Linked DNA regions of Homo sapiens: all the other regions are linked to region 2. The links are contacts of gene promoters, found by promoter capture Hi-C in blood cells and fetal thymus (Javierre and others, 2016). All regions are on one chromosome and are shown on one strand. The core of a region is centred on a gene start or on the middle of the fragment in contact, and the rest is flanking DNA. Distances in the headings are between cores, read along the strand shown. Region 1 has its middle 14 kb from the start of ATG16L1. Region 2 holds the start of GIGYF2 (GRB10 interacting GYF protein 2). Region 3 overlaps ATG16L1 (autophagy related 16 like 1). Region 4 overlaps USP40 (ubiquitin specific peptidase 40). Region 5 overlaps ATG16L1 (autophagy related 16 like 1). Region 6 overlaps DGKD (diacylglycerol kinase delta).

What was found. Contacts are between HindIII fragments. The CHiCAGO score rates a contact against its expected background, and 5 or more counts as called.
Region 1: a fragment that was not itself captured here is called in contact with the fragment with the promoter of GIGYF2 in region 2 in 1 of 17 cell types (naive CD8 T cells); the score reaches 5.3 in naive CD8 T cells.
Region 3: a fragment that was not itself captured here is called in contact with the fragment with the promoter of GIGYF2 in region 2 in 1 of 17 cell types (neutrophils); the score reaches 6.4 in neutrophils.
Region 4: a fragment that was not itself captured here is called in contact with the fragment with the promoter of GIGYF2 in region 2 in 1 of 17 cell types (fetal thymus); the score reaches 5.1 in fetal thymus.
Region 5: a fragment that was not itself captured here is called in contact with the fragment with the promoter of GIGYF2 in region 2 in 2 of 17 cell types (neutrophils and fetal thymus); the score reaches 5.8 in neutrophils.
Region 6: a contact is called between a fragment that was not itself captured here and the fragment with the promoter of GIGYF2 in region 2, in 1 of 17 cell types (neutrophils). The highest score is 8.5, in neutrophils.

Annotation. Positions count from the first base shown.
Region 1 is chr2:233,236,304-233,239,339 of GRCh38, forward strand. No RefSeq gene overlaps it. Among named protein-coding and RNA genes, the nearest start is that of ATG16L1, 14 kb to the right of the region's middle. The HindIII fragment of the contact is 1,046 bases long and covers 832-1,877 here.
Region 2 is chr2:232,696,045-232,699,264 of GRCh38, forward strand. GIGYF2 (GRB10 interacting GYF protein 2) reads left to right here and starts at 1,287. Exons shown (of 29, transcript NM_001103146.3): 1 at 1,287-1,348. RefSeq lists enhancers at 1,094-1,790, 1,791-2,485 and silencers at 1,140-1,229, 1,260-1,589. The HindIII fragment of the contact is 8,556 bases long and covers 1-3,219 here.
Region 3 is chr2:233,290,474-233,293,498 of GRCh38, forward strand. ATG16L1 (autophagy related 16 like 1) reads left to right here. Exons shown (of 18, transcript NM_030803.7): 15 at 1,655-1,804; 16 at 1,914-1,961; 17 at 2,783-2,884. Among named protein-coding and RNA genes, the nearest start is that of SAG, 16 kb to the right of the region's middle. The HindIII fragment of the contact is 4,043 bases long and covers 1-3,025 here.
Region 4 is chr2:233,563,666-233,566,591 of GRCh38, forward strand. USP40 (ubiquitin specific peptidase 40) reads right to left here. Exons shown (of 32, transcript NM_001365479.2): 2 at 1,691-1,908. The coding sequence starts at 1,889. Among named protein-coding and RNA genes, the nearest start is that of USP40, 1.7 kb to the right of the region's middle. The HindIII fragment of the contact is 290 bases long and covers 1,516-1,805 here.
Region 5 is chr2:233,256,309-233,259,586 of GRCh38, forward strand. All of the region lies in intron 2 of ATG16L1 (autophagy related 16 like 1), which reads left to right. Among named protein-coding and RNA genes, the nearest start is that of ATG16L1, 6.3 kb to the left of the region's middle. The HindIII fragment of the contact is 7,071 bases long and covers 1-3,278 here.
Region 6 is chr2:233,359,999-233,363,085 of GRCh38, forward strand. All of the region lies in intron 1 of DGKD (diacylglycerol kinase delta), which reads left to right. Among named protein-coding and RNA genes, the nearest start is that of DGKD, 7.0 kb to the left of the region's middle. The HindIII fragment of the contact is 7,993 bases long and covers 1-3,087 here.

The DNA of each region.
Region 1 (3,036 bases), core at 105-2,604, 540 kb after region 2:
TTCCCAGGACACACAGGAGTTCCCGTCCTCAGATCTTGGTAAAGGCAGCAGGAGAGGGTGGAAATGTCCTGCTTTTGCGTCTTTGCCATAAAATGATGTCTAAGGGGTCTTCCTGCTCTAAAATTCTAAATTTCCATTTCAGTCAAGGCTTTCTGCTTATGGGGAAGAGAAACTAGCTCCAAGCAGAGACAGAGTAACCTAACCCTAAGGAGAGCTCAGCCAGGCAGAGTGGCTCACGCTGTAATCCCAGCATTTTGAGAGGCTGAGGCGGGTGAATCACTTGAGGTCAGGAGTTTGAGACCAGCCTGGCCAACATGGTGAAACCCTGTCTCTACTAAAAATATAAAAATTAGCCAGGTGTGGTGGCACATGCCTGTAATCCCAGCTACTCGGGAGGCCGAGGCAGGAGAATCACTTGACCCTGGAAGGCGGAGGTTGTGGTGAGCCAAGATCGTGCCATTGCATTCCAGCCTGGGCGACAGAGCAAGACTCTGCCTCAAAAAAAAAAAAAAAAAAAAAAAAAAAGGAGCACTGATGAAGAGTCTAGCTAGCCAGGCCTCAGCCACATGGAGCTGGGAACAAGGTTGTCAGGCAGAGGGTGGCTCTTCTCTGGGCCCTGGTCCTCTCTGGACGTTTCCTTCTGCTCACCTGTTTCTTTCTCTGCCCAGCGTCCTCTGCCTATTCCTGGTTCTCCTTGGCTTTGTCTTGCCATGGTGCTGACTCAGCCCTTGACTGCTCCAGACCCAGAGGCCCGGCTCCTCACTCTCCCTTAAGAGAGGATTTAGGCCCAGTTAGGTGTCCACGGCTGGTCCAAAAAGTTCTTGGCCGGAAAGCTTCAGTCATGGGATAGAAACACAGCCACCCAGGCACATGACTTGATTAGAGAGAAAGACAAGTGGACTTGGCAAGGGTCAGGACCTCCAAAACATCAACAGCAGTGTTGGTGGCAGCTCCTTTCATTCCCACTTTCTTCTATTACTTGGGTTTCATCCAAACCTCTCTGGTTCTCAGAGAAGTACGTTCTAGGGCAGGGTTAGACATGAGAGATTTATTGAAGGAAGTGTCTGTGCAGGAAGATGGGGAGATTACAGGAGGAGGCTGGGAGAGCTGTCAGGCCATGATGCAGGTCTGACCCTGGTGAAGGAGAGAGGGAAGGAAGGTGAGGTAGGAAGACTCTCAGCCTGCCGCACATTCTAACAAAGTTTGGGCAGGGTTGATAGACATCTGTCTAAGTCAGTTCAGTCTACTATAATAAGATACCATATACTGGGTGGCTTATAAACAACAGAAATGTATTTTCCACAGTTCTGGAGCCTGGGAAGTCCAAGGTCAAGGTGCTGGCAGATCCAGTATCTGGTGAGAACCTTCTTCCTGGTTTGCAGATAGTAGACTTCTCACTGTGTCCTCACATGGTAGGAGGAGCAAGGCAGCTCTCTGGGGCCTCTTTTATAAGGTCCTCACCTCATGAATGGGTGCTGATCCCATTCATGGGGGCTCTTCCCTTGTGACCTAAGCACCTCCCAAAGGTCCCACTTCCAAATACCATCACACTGGGGATTATGGCTTCAAGATATGAATTTGGGGCAGGGGCACAAACATTCGGTCCATAGCAGCATCCTTGAGGCAAAGTTCATCAGAGGAGTCCCACGTGTCACAGGAGTCATTCTGCCTTAGCAGCCCTGCTGTGCTTCGTCATTGGTTGGGAGCAGTGGTAAGAAATGTGGACACAGCTTGAATGTGGTGGTGGATTTAGAGCACAGCATCAAGGGCTGTCAGGTGATTGTATTTCCCCCAGCAGGAGATCTGAGAGATACAAGTTCAAGGTCAACACACAGGCTCTTTTTTATGAGGCAGGAGAAGGAAGGCACAGATTGGTAAGCTTGCAGGCTATGGAGTCCACAGGCTGGGTTGGAATCTGCCTACCTCTTACCCATCATGTGCACCTGGACAAGTTACCTGTCTCCCTGAGCCTCACTTTCTTCCTCTGAAATAATAATAATGGCCATACCTATAAAGCACTTACTGTGTGCAAGACACCGTTGTCAGTATTAATTCATTTAATCCTGGGGCACAGAGTTTAAGCAACTTGCCTAAGATATCAGAGGTGATAAGTGCTAGCATCAGAATTTGAACCCAGAACCCAGGCTACATTGTCTTTGTGAAGTAGAGCCAGCAATAGCACCAACACGACTATGCTGTTGTGAAAACTGAGAAGAGAACAATTGTAAAGCATTTAGCCTCACACACTGTATACATTCAATAAATGTTACCTGCTGTTACTGGCATTACTAATTATTATTATAGAAGGTACAGACTGAGTTTTTCTTTCTTTTTTTCTTTTTTTTTTTTTTGAGACGGAGTCTCGCTCTGTCGCCCAGGCCGGACTGCGGACTGCAGTGGTGCAATCTCGGCTCACTGCAAGCTTCGCTTCCCGGGTTCACGCCATTCTCCTGCCTCAGCCTCCCGAGTAGCTGGGACTACAGGCGCCCGCCACCGCGCCCGGCTAATTTTTTGTATTTTTAGTAGAGACAGGGTTTCACCTTGTTAGCCAGGATGGTCTTGATCTCCTGACCTCATGATCCACCCGCCTCGGCCTCCCAAAGTGTGAGTTTTTCTTTAGTGGTTTCGAAGATACACACTTTTCATCCCAATGGTCTCTTCTGACAATAACTAGTTTCCTTCATATGGTGGGGAAAATGGATCCCACTGTGACAATGTAAAGTGATCCCACCTGCAGACATTTGCCTTGCTTTGGCTCTACGCTCATCAGATGTCTTCTGAGGATAACGTGGTGTTCTGTGCACACTCCCAACAGGGTAAAGGGGACACACCATTGATAGCCTACCCAGCAGCCATTTCCTGCTTCTTCCTTCCTGAGAGAGACCCAGTTTCCTTTAGATATTATTCTGGTTATCTATTGCTGCATCACGAACCATCCCCAAAACTGAAAACAACAATTCATTATCCTGTCTCACAATTCCGTGGCTGACTGGGCTCAGAAGGGTGGTTCTTGCTTGGGGTTTCTCATGTGGTTGC
Region 2 (3,220 bases), core at 37-2,536:
TTTCTCCATGTTGGTCAGGCTGGTCTCAAACTCCCAACCTCAGGTGATCCGCCGCCTCGGCCTCCCAAAGTGCTGGGATTACAGGCGTGAGCCACTGCCCGGCCGAGAATTGGAGGTTTTTGTTTTTGTTTTAGACGGAGTCTTGCTCTGTCGCCAGGCTGGAGTGCAGTGGCGCGATATCGGCTCACTGCAACGTCTGCCTCCCCAGTTCAAGCGATTCTCCTGCCTCAGCCTCCCGACTAGCTGCGACTGCAGGTGCGTGCCACCACGCCCGGCTACATTTTTTTTTGTATTTTTAGTAGAGACGGGATTTCACCGTGTTAGCCAGGATGGTCTGGTCTCGATCTCCTGACCTCGTGATCCGCCCACCTCCGCCTCCCAAAGTGCTGAGATTACAGGTGTGAGCCACTGCGCCCGGCATGAGAATTGGAGTTTTTAACATTCCATTTTAAGATGGGAGACACAAGTAATCTTTAAAGCTGACAGGAAGGATCCTGTAGGAAGGAAGAAGTTGGAGACACAGGCAAGAATGGGATGCCTAAGGATAGAGTTGCTAGATTTAGCAAACACAGGACGCCCAATTAAATTTGAATTTCAGAAAAACAACGAACAATTTTTCAGTGTGTGCCCCAAATATTGCTGGGTGTCTTGTATTTTATCTGTCAATTCCAAAATAGTTCATCTCTAGGTAAAAGGGTTATAGCCCCAGATGTCCTAGGAAGGAATCAGAGCTCTCAAGTCCTTTCCAGCTGTCCCAGTACAACACTCTGAAATGAATTCCCAGTTCTACCAGAACTGTTAACAAGTAGAGAAACTGCTTTGAATTTCAGCTTTTGCGGCTTTCCCATTCGCTCTAGGATGGCAACTGCGAAGAAAAATGCCGGACTAAAAGCTGTGGAAAAGTTCTAATTTGGAAAACCAGCCCGCAAGTGATGCAGAGGCTTTTGAACTGCAAAAGAGCTCTGGGCGTACAGGACAGTGAGTCACACGGTGCCTGGTCCGGGCCCAACCCTGGACACCAACACCACTCAACTCAAGGGCAGGTACCCGGCTGCTGCCAAGGGGTCAGCGGGAGCCTGCGCACTGCCACGGCCCCGCCCTCTTCCAACCTTTCATCCGGGTCTCGGGCAGGGGCGTGTCTGGGCAGAGGGGCGGGTGGTGGCGGAAAGGAAGGATGTCGTGGGAGACTGGAGAGTGGGGAGGGAAGCGGGAAGGGGCGGGGGCGGAGCAGGGGGCGTGGCGGAGCGGGAGCGCGGTCACGTGACGTGCGTGGCGACGTGTCGGCCATCTTGTGTTGTTGAGGCTGAGGACTGACTGGGGTTCTGAGACTCCCTGTCCCGGACCGCAGGTAACCAGCCGTTCCGTGTCGCTCCCCTGCCCGGCTCTGCTCCGCGCCCCGGCCCCGCCGCCGCGTCCCGGGCCGCCTGTGTCTCCGGTCCGCGTTCGCGCCCCTGCTCCTCCTGCCCGAGCTGGCCCGGCCGCATGGACACCCACAGGCCGCTCCGGCCGGCTTGGGCCGTCAGGCGACGGGACAGGTCAGGTGCAGGGCCGGAGGGAGCCTCCTCCTGGGCGAGGGGCGCTGAGGGCCCTGGCGCGTCACGGCCGCGAGGAGCCGAGAAGCCCCTAGGCCAGGGCCTCTTGGCATTGCGAGGGGAGCCGAACAAGGCAGGAGGGTTGTGGGGTGGGCAGTGTCAGGCCGGCTTGCTCGGAGCTGGAGGGCTCGCCTTCCTCTGCTTGCTTCTCCGCGCCAGACACCCGCCCAGTCTCGGGGTGGCCCGGTAACAGCTGCTGCGGCCAGACAGCTGCTCCTGCCGGCTCTCCTGTCCACACCTGGTCCCTGGGAGGTGCGCTCCTGCCTTCCCCACAGAGCATCTGGACGGAGGAGACTCCTTCCGTGGCGAGAGTACTGGGTCTGGACCAGGCCTGAGGCGAGGTGCAGCCACCATGATCGGAACCTTGGGACCGAGGCTGGGAAACTAGAGCCCATGGCAGCCTTGGGGACCCAAATGTTCACATCAGGTTGAAATGGGCATTATCCTTAAGTGTCAGTTTCCAAAAGCACTCTGAATACTTGTTTTGCGACTGAAACATAAATCAAGCGAACAGGGAATGGGGGCATGAAAGAAGCGGAGCGTATGACCGTGTTTGGGAAGCAATAACGTTGTTTTGCAGTTAATTATTTAGTACTGTGTTTTTTATTTTGTTGTTTTCGTTTTCCTGCAAGTCAAAGCACTTAAACACACGTAGTCTCTCTGTAAGAAAGGTAAGTATTCCAGTTTAACTTGCAAGAAATTGAGTATGGGGCTAGAAGCTGTGAACAGCTTCCTTTCTAGAGCTACATACATTGAATTAAGGCAGTTTTGATTCCCAATGTTGTGCCTGGGGAAGGTATTCTTTCTTTATATAGTATGTCCTTTTTAGAATCAAATGACTTCCTAGATTAGAAAAAAAAATTCTGTCATTCTTTCTGTACATTAATTTTGCTCCTTCTAATATTTGTAGCTTTGGCCTTATTTTGTCCATTTTGCCTAGAACACAAATACTTTCTCTTATTCATTGATGGTTTTACGTGTTTTACTAGTTGGTGTAGCAGTTTCTGATGTGCTCAAACTGGAATATGTACTTGGCTTTTACATCAGATGTTGACAACAGAAGAGGACACTAGAAAAGTATTTAAAAGTGGCACGTAACTGGAAAAATGTCACATGATGTTTCTTTCGAAATTTAACATCAAGGAATACACTGGTGATGGTAGTGCTTCACCAGAAAGGAGAGGGCTTCATGACTTTTTGGTACCTGACAGCATTTGAGACTCTTGAGGTTTGGGAGGGAGAAGGAACCATGTGCTTCCATTCATTTGTTTATTCATTCATACATTCATTTATTTGACAGATACCCTGTTGAGCACTTACTACACTGTTAAGTACTGGGAGCAAAACAGACCAAACAATTCCTGTCTGTATGGAATTCATTTCTAGACAGATAAATAGGTAAAATACTTGATGTAGTGGTAAGCGATGTGAAAGAAAAAAATGAGTCAGGGAGATAGAATAATAGGGGTTTGGGGAGGGGTTAATTTTAAGTGCCCTGAGAAGGCCTCATGGAGAAGCTAACACTGGAGGAAAAACCCAACAGAGGTGAAGGTGCTGTTTCTTTAGCTATACTGGGGTAAAAGTGCTCTAGGCTAGGGAGCAGCAAGAGCAAAGACCCGGAGACAAAA
Region 3 (3,025 bases), core at 434-2,933, 590 kb after region 2:
TGTTAGCTTATTAACACTTGGCTGTTCTTTCCCATGAAGTAGACTGTGGAGCTTAGCAATCATTTATTGAGCATGCAGTGAGTGCTAGGCCCTTCACCAGCTGGCAGGTAAGAAAAGGCAAACAGGATACTCTTTCTACCTTTAGGTAATTTAAACTGTAGTAGGGAAGGCAGAACGCAAAAGTCAGTGACTAGTGTGTTGAAGTGGAGGCAGCTACGTTTGTTCCAGTGTGTTAAAGAATGCCTCTCCAGATTTCTCCGGAGACGTGAGTAGGATTCACACGGCAGGAAAGCCACTCAAACTTTTGAGTGTGTGTCTGGTGGCTGATACATGGCAAGTGAGCAGGAAACAGGGCAGAAGCCAGTGAGGGGGCTATGAGGGGTTGAAATCAGGTTGCCACAGGCTTGATAAGCCATTGTCAAATCACTCGATCTTGTAAGTCGTTGGGTGTTTAGCAAGGAAATGGTTGCTTTGCAGGAGTCTAGTAGACGACTTTGGTGGCATTTTGAGAGGGCATATTAGGGAATAGGAAACCAATAGAGTTGATAAGGACCTAAGTTCAAGTCAGTAGAGGAACATGTGGAGGAGAGAATCTATTTGAAGGAGAATTTGGACAGGGCTTATTGACAGGTTGGAGGAAGGGGAAGACAGGATGGAGAGTAAATGAGGACAGCCTCCCAGCAGGGTTGTAGAGAGGGTGGGGGTACAGGGCCTGTGGTGATAGATGATGCTTTGAAACACAGCATGGCACCAGAAAGTCCTGACAATGCTCATGGTTCCTGGACACCACTTCACATTTTATTCATAATCTTTAGTTTGCTTTTAAAACCTGAAATTGGAACTTGAAAGATGGAATTTGAGAGTTAAGTTGGATGTTCGAAGTCTCTTAGTCCATCCCATAATTTGACAGGTGAAGACCCTGAGTCCCAAGGAAGTGGAGTAGCTTGCTTCAAGCTGCATATTTAGCAACAATAAGATAAATTCTTGCTTAGTTAAGGTGGGAGGTAGGAAAAGGTTTCATTGAAAGCCTACAACAAAATCATCACAGAACAGGTCAGCACCCCCTTTGGCTATGAATGTCACCAACAGGGCCCTGCCCAGGGTGGCTGTTAGCCACCCTGGACATGGGCCACAGCACAGAGAAGAAGAGGGAGGTGCGTAGGGCCGTGGCTCTGCCCTGGCTTTCCTGGCCCCATATCTGGAGGTGGAGGGCCACAGAGCCACAGTGAATAGGGCAGAAAACCTGCAAGAGGCTAGAGTTACACTTACAAGGCAGCCCAGGCCCACTAATGCAGGTTTCTTTGCCAACTTTATCCAAAAGTTGAAATCACATCACTGAAAATAATACGAATTGGGTAGTAGCCCTAGTTAGCTCATGCTGATCAGAAACCGATGGGCGATTGTTGTCATTCCAAAAATGGATGAGGAAATTCTTACCAACTTCAGAGTTCTAGTCTGGGAATGACTGTCTTAGGGTCTGTTGATGGGAAAGTAAGAAAAGCAGTCACAGGTTATTAGAAGACTGGGAACACATTGACTGCGCTGGCAGAGCGTTGCATGCTAGTTGAATTGCAGTGCCTTTTTTTTCCTCCACGGCATGATGTGAAGTAGTTCTGGCCTACGTTACATTTCTCAGATCTGTTCTCCCTCTTAGATCAGAGAGCATAGTTCGAGAGATGGAGCTGTTGGGAAAGATTACTGCCCTGGACTTAAACCCAGAAAGGACTGAGCTCCTGAGCTGCTCCCGTGATGACTTGCTAAAAGTTATTGATCTCCGAACAAATGCTATCAAGCAGACATTCAGGTAACTGAAGATGTGCTGGTTGCATGAAGACCAGAGGCCCAGCCCTGCTCTCTTAACGTGCTGCGTGGCCTGAGCTCCCTCAGTGACAGTGCCCTGTTGTTTGTTTCAGTGCACCTGGGTTCAAGTGCGGCTCTGACTGGACCAGAGTTGTCTTCAGGTTAGTAGTGACCCACCCCCCGCCAATTTGGTTCATCACAAAGAGTCCTGCATGGGCATTTTCCCACTGGGGATATAGAGCTAAATTTTGTTCAGTGCCCAACCTATGTTTCCAGGAGTGTGCCTGTAAGTTCATAATTGCAGGCCACCATTATTGTCTCTTCCTTTCCAGTGTTCCTTTTGTGATTACATGAACCTAACGTGTTGTACCAAAAAATAACAGTTGGCTGGTTGCTTTGTTGTGGGTGAGCCCATTAGGTTCACTTCTCATCACTCATTCACGCAAGAGCTGTTGGAGAGCCTTTAGAAAAGGGCAGGAGTGGCCGTGGGCCTGGGGCGGGACTGAAAAGGCTTTTTGGAGAAGGGTGTGCAGGTGGTCTGCAGTTTTCTGCTCCTTGTTCCCTTCTTCCATGTATCCTGCTTCTTCCAAATACCTTTCCAGGCTCAGTTGCTAAGATGTTTCTTTTCTTCCCTCCTCTCTTTGAGGCATGTAACAAGGCAGTCCATGGGCTGAAACCCTTAGCTATGTGGAGGTTGGCTTTGATCTCCCTATATGTTGTTTTGTTGAAGTCTGTAGATGGTTAAGGACTTGGAGCCCCAAGAAGCAATGTGATGCCACTGTTCATTAGCCGGACGGGGCTGAAATACTGGGGAAAAGCAGATTTGGCTGGAAGGGCCATGACTAGCACACATTCTGAGGTCTGGGTACACAGGAGTGGTCATCAGTGAAGAACAAACATTCCTTCTTGGGAAAAAGGCCACAGAGATGCTGAATTGGGGGTGGGGAATTGACAACCTTTCTTTTCTTACTGTCTTCTGTAGCCCTGATGGCAGTTACGTGGCGGCAGGCTCTGCTGAGGGCTCTCTGTATATCTGGAGTGTGCTCACAGGGAAAGTGGAAAAGGTTCTTTCAAAGCAGCACAGGTAAGATGAACCCTGTCTCAGCCCCCCGTTGCGTTGTGAGCAAGGCCTTTGACTTCATCTCAGGGGTCATCCGGTTTAGACCTCAGTCGGCGCTGTGAGGGCACTGTCCGCCCACCTGCTCGGCTGGCTGAGCTAGGTCAG
Region 4 (2,926 bases), core at 411-2,910, 870 kb after region 2:
CCTATTATTTAAAATACTATTCCAAAATTTCCCCCGCCAGTTCTCTGACAGTCCTTATTCTTTCCAAATTATACCTCCCTGTCAGTCACCATCAGGATTCAGGCTAAGCTATACAAGCAGTGCACATTGTGCACTAAGATGTCAAATCATATGCTTGGCCAGCAATCCCCTCTGCTGGAGAGGAAGTTGGCCTGGGACTCTCAGTACTACTCTTGCCTAATGGTACGCTCCATGACCCGCCCTACACTTCACCATCTTCCTCAGTCCCTTTGAGGCTACGTTTCTACTTCGAGTTGTCCTTTAACTTCAACTATATTAAAACCTGGAAAAGTGTTATCCCTATTAGAAATGTACTTATTAGTGCTGGCAATTTTTACTGGTGGAATTACTGATTGCATCAGGGAGATATTTTTATGGAGGGGATCGAGTCAAGGCTAAGAGGTACCACTTAAATCCCACATGCAATCCAACCCATTAAATTGCTCCTAGGAAGGTAACAGCGGTAAATATTTACTAAATCTCTGGAGGCAGCAAGTCTTTCTAAGCTTAGAAGCAACAGAAGAACCACAAAGATTTGATAAATGTGGTGGCAGTAGGGAAGAGGAACATGGCAAACCAGATAGGATGAGTCAGGCTGTCTGTCCTCCTAATATGGAGACACTGTGGAGAGCTGAGCTACAAAGCCATGTAGTGCTGGGGACCCCAGTCAGGGCCAGGTGAAGGCAAAGTAATGTTCACACTGAGCTCACGGGAACACAGCTCCTAGGACCCTTGTGGAGGAAGCTGGTTTGCAGAGATGGGGTATGGGAGAAATATATAGAGAGAAACAGGGGCAAGAAATCAAGGGTCCAGTAAGGTCAGGCTGGCTTCCTGCAGTTGATTTCTGAGATCCCCTATATTCTTACAATAACCCCCCTTTTAAATTTAGCTAATTTGGGTGGTGGGTCTGTTTCTTGCACACAATCCCTTACCTAAAATCTCTGGGTCTTTGGAATTCAGAATTTCCAGAGTTTATAAAGATAATATGAAAAAAGTGTTTTTTATATATATATAAAATGTTACATTCCCAGCAGGGTCTGGGCCAGCTTCCATTAATCAAGCAGATTAATATTCCTGTAATGAATGTATGAACATTCACCCACATGAGATAACTAAAAACTGTAAATAGCCTCACACCAGGTCTGGTTCTGAAGCCAAACAAGCTCAGGTGAGATCAGATGAGGGTGTGAGCTTTCCAGATTTCAGAAATGCGTATGAACAACTGTGCACCCATATAAATAATATGACACCCTTCCCCACTCCAAAAGGTAGATATAATTGGTTGGATAACTCTGGCTTAAGTGTTTGTTATTCTAGAGAAATCTTAAAACTCAAACAGTGTAACAATAATGAAGACTGATACTTATGACAATTGTCTTTACGTTGTACTTTAAATTACAGGAATTAAAAAAGAAATATATTGCTTTATTTTTTTACTAAACATTATTGTCATCACCCAGGATATATTTAAGATTAAGCTTCACATTTCTCTGCAGAGGGAATTACCAATTTATATCTTATATGTGCAACAATAAACACATACTGTAGAATATATCTTTAAGATAATTGGTCTATTTGTGATTTTGCATAATTAATTACATGTAAAGAAGATGGTACATATTGCTAGTTAAATGTACGTAACATAGCATACCTCTGAATTCAGGTGTGAAATGAAGAGTCTGAAGAAGGGAATTGAGGTAACAGGTTCCACCCTGATTTCTGATTCCGCTTAAATTGGTGAATTCTCTAGGAGCAGGTGGCTCCAAAGCTTTAGTCTTTAATTTCTTCCCTTTTCCATACTGATTATTAGACACAGTGGAATACTCCTCTTCAAACAGGTCCCCAAACATTGTGAAACTAAATACTACCCTTAAAAAAAGTGACATATAAATGCTTTTATTTTTAAAATAAATTTTCCCCAAATCCCCCTACCTTACACTTGGGAGTCGATTCTGTTGTTTCTTAGAACACAGGACTACTGTTTCTATGTACAGTAGTTGGGTTTTGGAGGCAGCAAGATCTAGATTTTTTTCATCCCTATCAGGACCCTAACTACCTGTGTGACCCTGGATATGTTAATCTGTTTTCTTATGTGTAAAATAGGATACCATCTGTCTCTTCGGGTCATTTAAACTATCCAATGACATAACGAAAGAAGGGCAGTTAGTGTACAGGGTTTGGCCCACAATAAGTAACAGCTGTTTTTAAAAAGGCACGTTCACATCACTAATTTTTTTAAAAAAGAAAACCTGTTGCCACAACTAATCCACTGCTGGGACGGCAAAGCCAACCCTAAATTCTGAGAATCAACTCTCTAAAATCTCTGCTTGTCACACCCTTCAGTACTATATACCAGATTATGACATTTAAATTAAACAGATCAAGTTAACTTTTTTTAGAGCACTTTAGTACAGTCCCGAAGCTGTTGGGCCGGAAGTCAGTTCACTGGGGAGGGAGGGGGGAAGGGGAGCGGAGGGCGGGGAAGACTGCCACTAAAATTATCAAGCCTAAAGGCCTTCCAGTATGTATCCACTAATCCCATCGTTAGCCCTGGGGGCCTAGGTGACTTCCCCAAGGTTTCACATCGAGTGTGGCGGAGGGTCACTTGGAGATGAGAAACGTAAAGCGCCTAGCATAGGTACCAAATGACAGGAAGCGCTGAAATGCAATTATTTTTCTTTTCCTCAGAAGAAAACTAAAAAAACACAACTCGAGAGTCTAGCCTCGAGCTCGTTGTCTGCATTCCTGAATTCCCAACTCCTACGGCCGGCCGAGGCCCTCCAAGCCACCACAGGCCCAGGGGCGCAAAAAGGCAGAGGTCCCCGTGGCCCGAAACCACTGCCCCGACTCCAGGAGAGCGCCGCGTCCTCAGGCAGGCCTGGGCAGC
Region 5 (3,278 bases), core at 620-3,119, 560 kb after region 2:
TTTGTCAGCTCCTTTCAAATAAGAACTAAAACCATGTAATTACAATTGTTTTTTAGAAGGTATGTCATACCTAGAAAGGTTATTATCAGTACAGTGCTCTGAGCTTGAGAAATTTCTTAAGGCAGGTTCACGTGGTAACCCTAGGTCAGTTTCTCATCTAACCTGCCAGGATTCATGTTTTTTTGTTTCTTTGTTTTTAAATAATCACAGACAAGTATTTCTGAGCGGGTTTGTGTAGATCCTGTTAATGTAGGATTGATTGGCACATACGTAAAAATTGCTTTCCTGCAGTATGGGTCTATTTGATCCTTTTTAGGTTGGTGTTTTTTTCAACATACAAATGGTCCCCAACTTGCAGTGGTTCGACTTATAATTTTTCTTTTTCTTTTTTTTTTTTTTCTTTTTTGAGACAGTCTCACTCTGTCACCCAGGCCGGAGTACAGTGGCACGATCTCAGCTCACTGCAACCTGCAACCTCTACCTCCTGGGTTCAAGCAATTCTCCTGCCTCAGCCTCCCAAATAGCTGGGTCTACAGGAACCCACCACCACACCTGGCTAGTTTTTGTATTTTTAGTAGAGGCAGGGTTTCACCATGTTGGCCAGGCTGGTCTCGAACTCTTGACCTCAAATGATCCACCTACCTCAGCTTCCGAAAGTGTTGGGATTACAGGCGTGAGCCACCGCACTGGCCAGCTTACAATTTTTTTTGTTTTGTTTTGTTTTGTTTTGTTTTGTTTTGAGATGGGGTCTCGCTCTGTCGCCCAGGCTAGAGTGCAGTGGCGCGTTCTGGGCTCAGTGCAAGCTCCGCCTCCTGGGTTCAAGCCATTCTCCTGCCTCAGCCTCCCGAGTAGCTGGGACCACAGGCACCCGCCACCACGCTTGGCTAATTTTTTGTATTTCTGGTAGAGACGGGGTTTCACCGTGTTAGCCAGGATGGTCTTGATATCCTGACCTCGTGATCCGCCCGCCTCGGCCTCCCAGAGAGGTGGGATTACAGGCTTGAGCCACCGCGCCCAGCCCAGCTTACAATTTTTAACCTTTATAATGGTGCAGAAGCGATACACTTTCAGTAGGACTGTGCTTTGAGTATCCATCCAACCAGTCTGTTTTTCCCCTTCAGTTTAGTATTCAATAAATTGCATGAGATATTCAACAACTTATTATAAAATAGGCTTTGTGTTAGATGATTTTGCCCAACTGTAGGCTAATGTAAGTGTAACCTATGATACTCAGTAGGTGAGATGTATTGAATGTATTTTCAACCTACTATATATTTTCAACTTCTGATGGGTTTAAAGAGACATAGCCTCAGTAAGTAGAGGAACATCAGTATTAGTAGATTGTGAAATCAAATTAGCAGATTGCAGTAAGCTCTTATTTTTCTTTAAGAACTAGATTAGAAAAATATCAGTGTGTGCTGGGCTTGGTGGCTCACACCTGTAATCCCAGCACTTTGGGAGGCCAAGGCGGGTGGATCACAGGGTCAGGAGTTCAAGACCAGCCTGGCCCTGATGGTGAAACCCCATCTCTACTAAAAATACAAAAATTAGCCGGGCATGGTGGCGGGCGCCTGTAATCCCAGCTACCCGGGAGGTTGAGACAGAATTGCTTGAACCTGGGAGGCGGAAGTTGCAGTGAGCCAAGATTACACCACTGCACTCCAGCCTGGGTGACAGAGCGAGACTCCGTCTCAAAAAAAAAAAAAAAATATCTATATATCTATATATCTATATATCTATATCTATCTCTTGGTGTGTATTGATAGAATATTTCATGAAATACATATTTGTTCATGGCGGGGTATTTGTGTTTACTGGGTCACTGGTGTGCATTTATGTATATTTGAAGTCTTATTATCCTCTTCTGTAATATTCATTGTGTTTGCATGTTAAATTTGGTATGGGGACAGTAGCCATTATTGCTCTGAAATCTCCACACATTTAGCAATTGTAAAAACAAGGTTGGTGATTTATGGTGTCTAGAAATGGTAGCTGTAGCCTGATGTATTTACTCCTAGAGCTGTAGCTGCTCTCATGTCTCCTCATCTGGCACGATGGTCTCCTGATAGAGGACAGAGTGGGAAAGATACCAGAGAACAGATGGCTTGGCAGGGCCTAGCTTCCATCCTTGCTTTGTAACAGTTCAGGAGATCCTGCCTGGCTGTGGCCCTGGGAGGCCTTCTGTAGTACTTAAGATATTAGTTTTAGTATTTTGGTTAATTTTAGGTGTAGATAATGCTGTTTCACCATTTTCGTCTAAATTCATCCAATTGAAAACTAAAAACATTTCTATCTGATTAAACCCTTGATGACTATATTCTTGTATTCTTTATCTGTTAGCCAAACTCATGTGCTTGGAATATGCAGCCGTTCTTTTGGCTAAATTTCACTGGGATAGACTTTTTTGAGGCAGGGTCTCTCTCTGTTGCCCAGGCTGGAGTGCAGTGGCATGATCATGGCTTACTGCGGCCTCAACTTCCAGGGCTCAAGCAATCCTCCTGCCTTAGCCTTCTGAGTAGCTGGGAGACTATAGGTGTGCACCACCATGCCAGTCTAATTTTTTAATTTTTTGTAGAGATAGGGGTCTCACTGTGTTACCCAGGCTGGTCTTTACTCCTGGGCTTAAGTGATCCTCCCTCCTCAACCTTCCATTAGTGTTGGGTTTACAGGCATGAGCCACCACACCCAGGGGGATGGTCATTTAGTTGGAGGTCTTGTTATAAACCAGGTTCATTCAGCCCACACACAGCAAGTTAATCACTGAGATGATGGGTTTTGTGAGAGTTTATTCATAACGTGGCCAAGCAAGGAGGCAGGAGAACAGGTCTCAAATCCACCTCCTTGAAAACAGGGATTGGGGGTACTTAGGCAGTAGAAAGCAGGGTGGTCTAAAGTGTGGGAAGAGGTGATTGGTGGGTAGGAAAGATGAGGTAATTGGGGCTTCCACGCAAGCATAATCTAGCTTTGTGGTTCCTCATAGGACACATGCAGAAAATGGTGGCGTCAGCACCATCTGAGGGAGGAGTGTTTTGGCCCTCTGATGTCAAAAGATCACCTCTTGGGCATTCACACAGGCCCAGTTGAAGGGTTGGGGGTCTCAACCAGCTTTAATGAGCAAGAGCTGCCTCCTAGTTCCTGGAGAAAAACTTTAAGCACCAGTTATTGTAGTGAGCCACAGTCAGTTATTATTTATAAGGAAGCTATTGGGAGTTTAGTTATGTGTTGTTTGGCAACTCGACTTGCTAGTGGGAGTTTGGAACTAGAAAAAAGTGATGAAA
Region 6 (3,087 bases), core at 562-3,061, 660 kb after region 2:
TGCCTTCTGCTTCTGGCAGTGGTGAGCTGAGTGACTGCAGCGCCACTCTTCCAAGCACAGTCTGCTAATAAGATGATGCTGAATTTCTGGACTAGGATCTGGGGTGGCTGAAGATCTGTGGAAGTGAGTGTGGTATTTGGGGCTGCTTTTGACCTTGGAATCTGTAGTGGCGTCTGTAGTGGATTTGGCATCTCTACCAAATTTGGTCCACCTAGAACTTCAGGATGCCCACATAATAAGATATTAGTTAAATATCTTTAAAAAAATTTTTTTTCTTTTTTTCTGAGACAGGGTCTTGCTCGGTCGTCCAGGCTGGAGTGCAGTGGCATACTGCAGTCTCTGGCTGGGCTCAGGCAATCCTCCTGCCTCAGCCACCTGAGTAGCTGGGACTCCAGATGCATTCCATGATGCCTGGCTAATTTAAAAACACATTTTTATGGAGACGAGGGTCTCACTATGTTGCCCATGCTTGGGGTCTCAAACTCCTGGGCTCAAGCGATCCTCCCCCTTTGGCTTCCCAAAGTGCTAGAATTACAGACATGAGCTACTGTGCCTGGCCAAAATTTTTTATTTTGAGATAGGGTCTTGCTATATTCCCCAGGCTGGTCTCAAACTCCTGGGCTCAAGTGATCCTCCTGCTTCAGGCTTCTGAGTAGCTGGGAGCGTAGGCTCAAGCCACTGTGCCTGGCTAATTAAAGATTTTGAGAGTAAATCATCGTGAACTTAGGAGAAACTCTAAATCCAGTGTTGGTTTCTTTATAAGAGGAAGGGGAGGGAGATTTGGACAGAAAGACATGTTGGGAAAAAGGTTATGGGAAAATAGAGCCGGAGATTAGAGTTCGTTGATGCAAACCAAGGAATGCCTGGGGCCACCAGAAGCTGGAAGAGATAACAGATGGAATCTCCCCTAGAGCCTTTAGAGGGAGTGCGGCCTTCTGATCCCTTGATCTCCGACTTCCAGCCCCCAGAGCAGTGAGACAGTCAAGTTTTTTTTTTTTTTTTTTTTTTCCAAGTTTTGTTTTAAGCCTTGAAGTTTTATGGCAGCCCTAGGGCAGCCCTGGGGAAAGAACACTGGGCCCTGAACAAAACATGGGAGCCAAGAGGCTGAGCCCTGTGAGACTGTCTGAGTGCCTTAGCAGGGCTGAGGTGCCAGGTTCTGCCAAAGGGCAACAGTCCTGGGTGACACCCTCCCCTCACAATTTGGATTGGGATCCAAAGAAGCCACTTCCAAGGAATGCGCAGGAGCCAGAAGTATTGGAAGGACTGCAGCCCTGCTTCAAATCACCTCAGTCCTCTGAAATTAAAGTAATCCCAGTGTACTAGTGTCTCTAGATTCCCAACAGAAGCAAACTTTAATCCTCTCTAGAGGGAGATATCTCCCTCTAATCCTCCCAGTTATCAATGGAGGCCTCTAATGACTTTCACGAGTCTGTTTGTACGTTCATGATTGTGCATACAGTAAAAAAATAGACATCAAGGGAGGCGAGGCACTTGAGCTAAAACCAGTCGAAACTACAGGCTGTAGACAGACCCACAGGGCTTCCAGACTCCAGACCCAGACTTTATAACAACTGTGCTCGTTGTGTTGGAGGAGACACGAGATCAGATGGAGAGTTTTGGCAGAGAACTAGAAACTATGGAAAAGAACCAGATGAAAATTCTAGTCCACACTGGCCAGATGGCTCACGCCTATAATCTCAGCACTTTTGGACTGAGGCAGGTGGATCATTGGAGGTCACGAGTTTGAGACCAGCCTGGCCAACATGGCAAGATCCCGCCTCTACTAAAGATACTAGACATTTTTTTTTTCTTTTAAGACGGAGTCTCACTCTTGTCACCCAGGCTGTAGTGCAGTGGCATGATCTCAGCTCACTACAACCTTTGCCTCCTGGGTTCAAGCAATTCTCCTGCCTCAGCCCCCCGAGTAGCTAGGATTACAGGTGCCCATCACCACGCCCAGCTAATTTTTTGGTATTTTTAATAGAGACGGAGTCTTACCATGTTAGCTAAGCTGGTCTCGAACTCCCAATCTCAGGTGATCTGCCCGCCTCGGCCTCCCAAAGTGCTGGGATTACATGCGTGAGCCACCTCACCCAGCCAATAAAAGAAAATTATAAAATTGAAAAAGCATAGTGATCAAAATTAACTAACCAAAAAAAGAGCAGATTAGACCCAGGCTGAAAAAATTGTGTGAACCAGAAGATAGCTCAGAAGAAAATACCCACAAGGAAGCCTGGAGACATAAAAAATGGAAAAATTTGGAGAGGGTGGGAGACAGATATAGTAAGAAGGTCTTACTTGTGTTTAATTGTCACAAGAGAGGAGAAGTGAGAGAAAATTGAGGAGACACAATATTTGAAAAGATAATGTGGCCAGGTGCAGTGACTCACGACTGTAATCCCAGCAGTTTTGGATGCTGAGGTGGGCGGATCACCTGAGGTTAGGAGTTCAAGACCAGCTTGGCCAACATGGTGAAACCCTGTGTCTACTAAAAGTACAAAAATTAGCTGGGTGTGGTGGCAGATGCCTGTAATCCCAGCTACTCGGGAGGCTGAGGCAGGAGCATCGCTTGAACCTGGGAAGTGGAAGTTGCAGTGAGCTGAGACCACACCATTACACTACAGCCTGGGCGACAAGAGCGAAACTCTGTATTAAATAGAAAAAAAAGAAAGAAAAGTAATACCTGAGAATTTTCTACAACAAATAACAGGTACCATGAACAGATTCGATAGCCGTATGAACTGAAAGAACCATATCTAATCAATTCCTGGTACACCCTTGTGCTCTGCATAATGATGTTTCCGGATGATGATCCACATGGACAAAGGTGGTCCCATAAGATTATAATGAAGCTGAAAAATTCCAATTGTCTAGTGACGTGGTAGCTGTTATAATGTTGTAGGGCAATGAATTACCTATGTGTTTGTGGTGATGCTGGTGTAAACAGACCTACTGCACTGCAAGTGGTAGAAAAGTATAGCACATACAAGTATATACAGTACATAATAGTTGATGATGATAATAAACAACTATGTTACTGGTTTATGTATTTACTATCTATACTTTTTATTATTTTAGAGTATATTC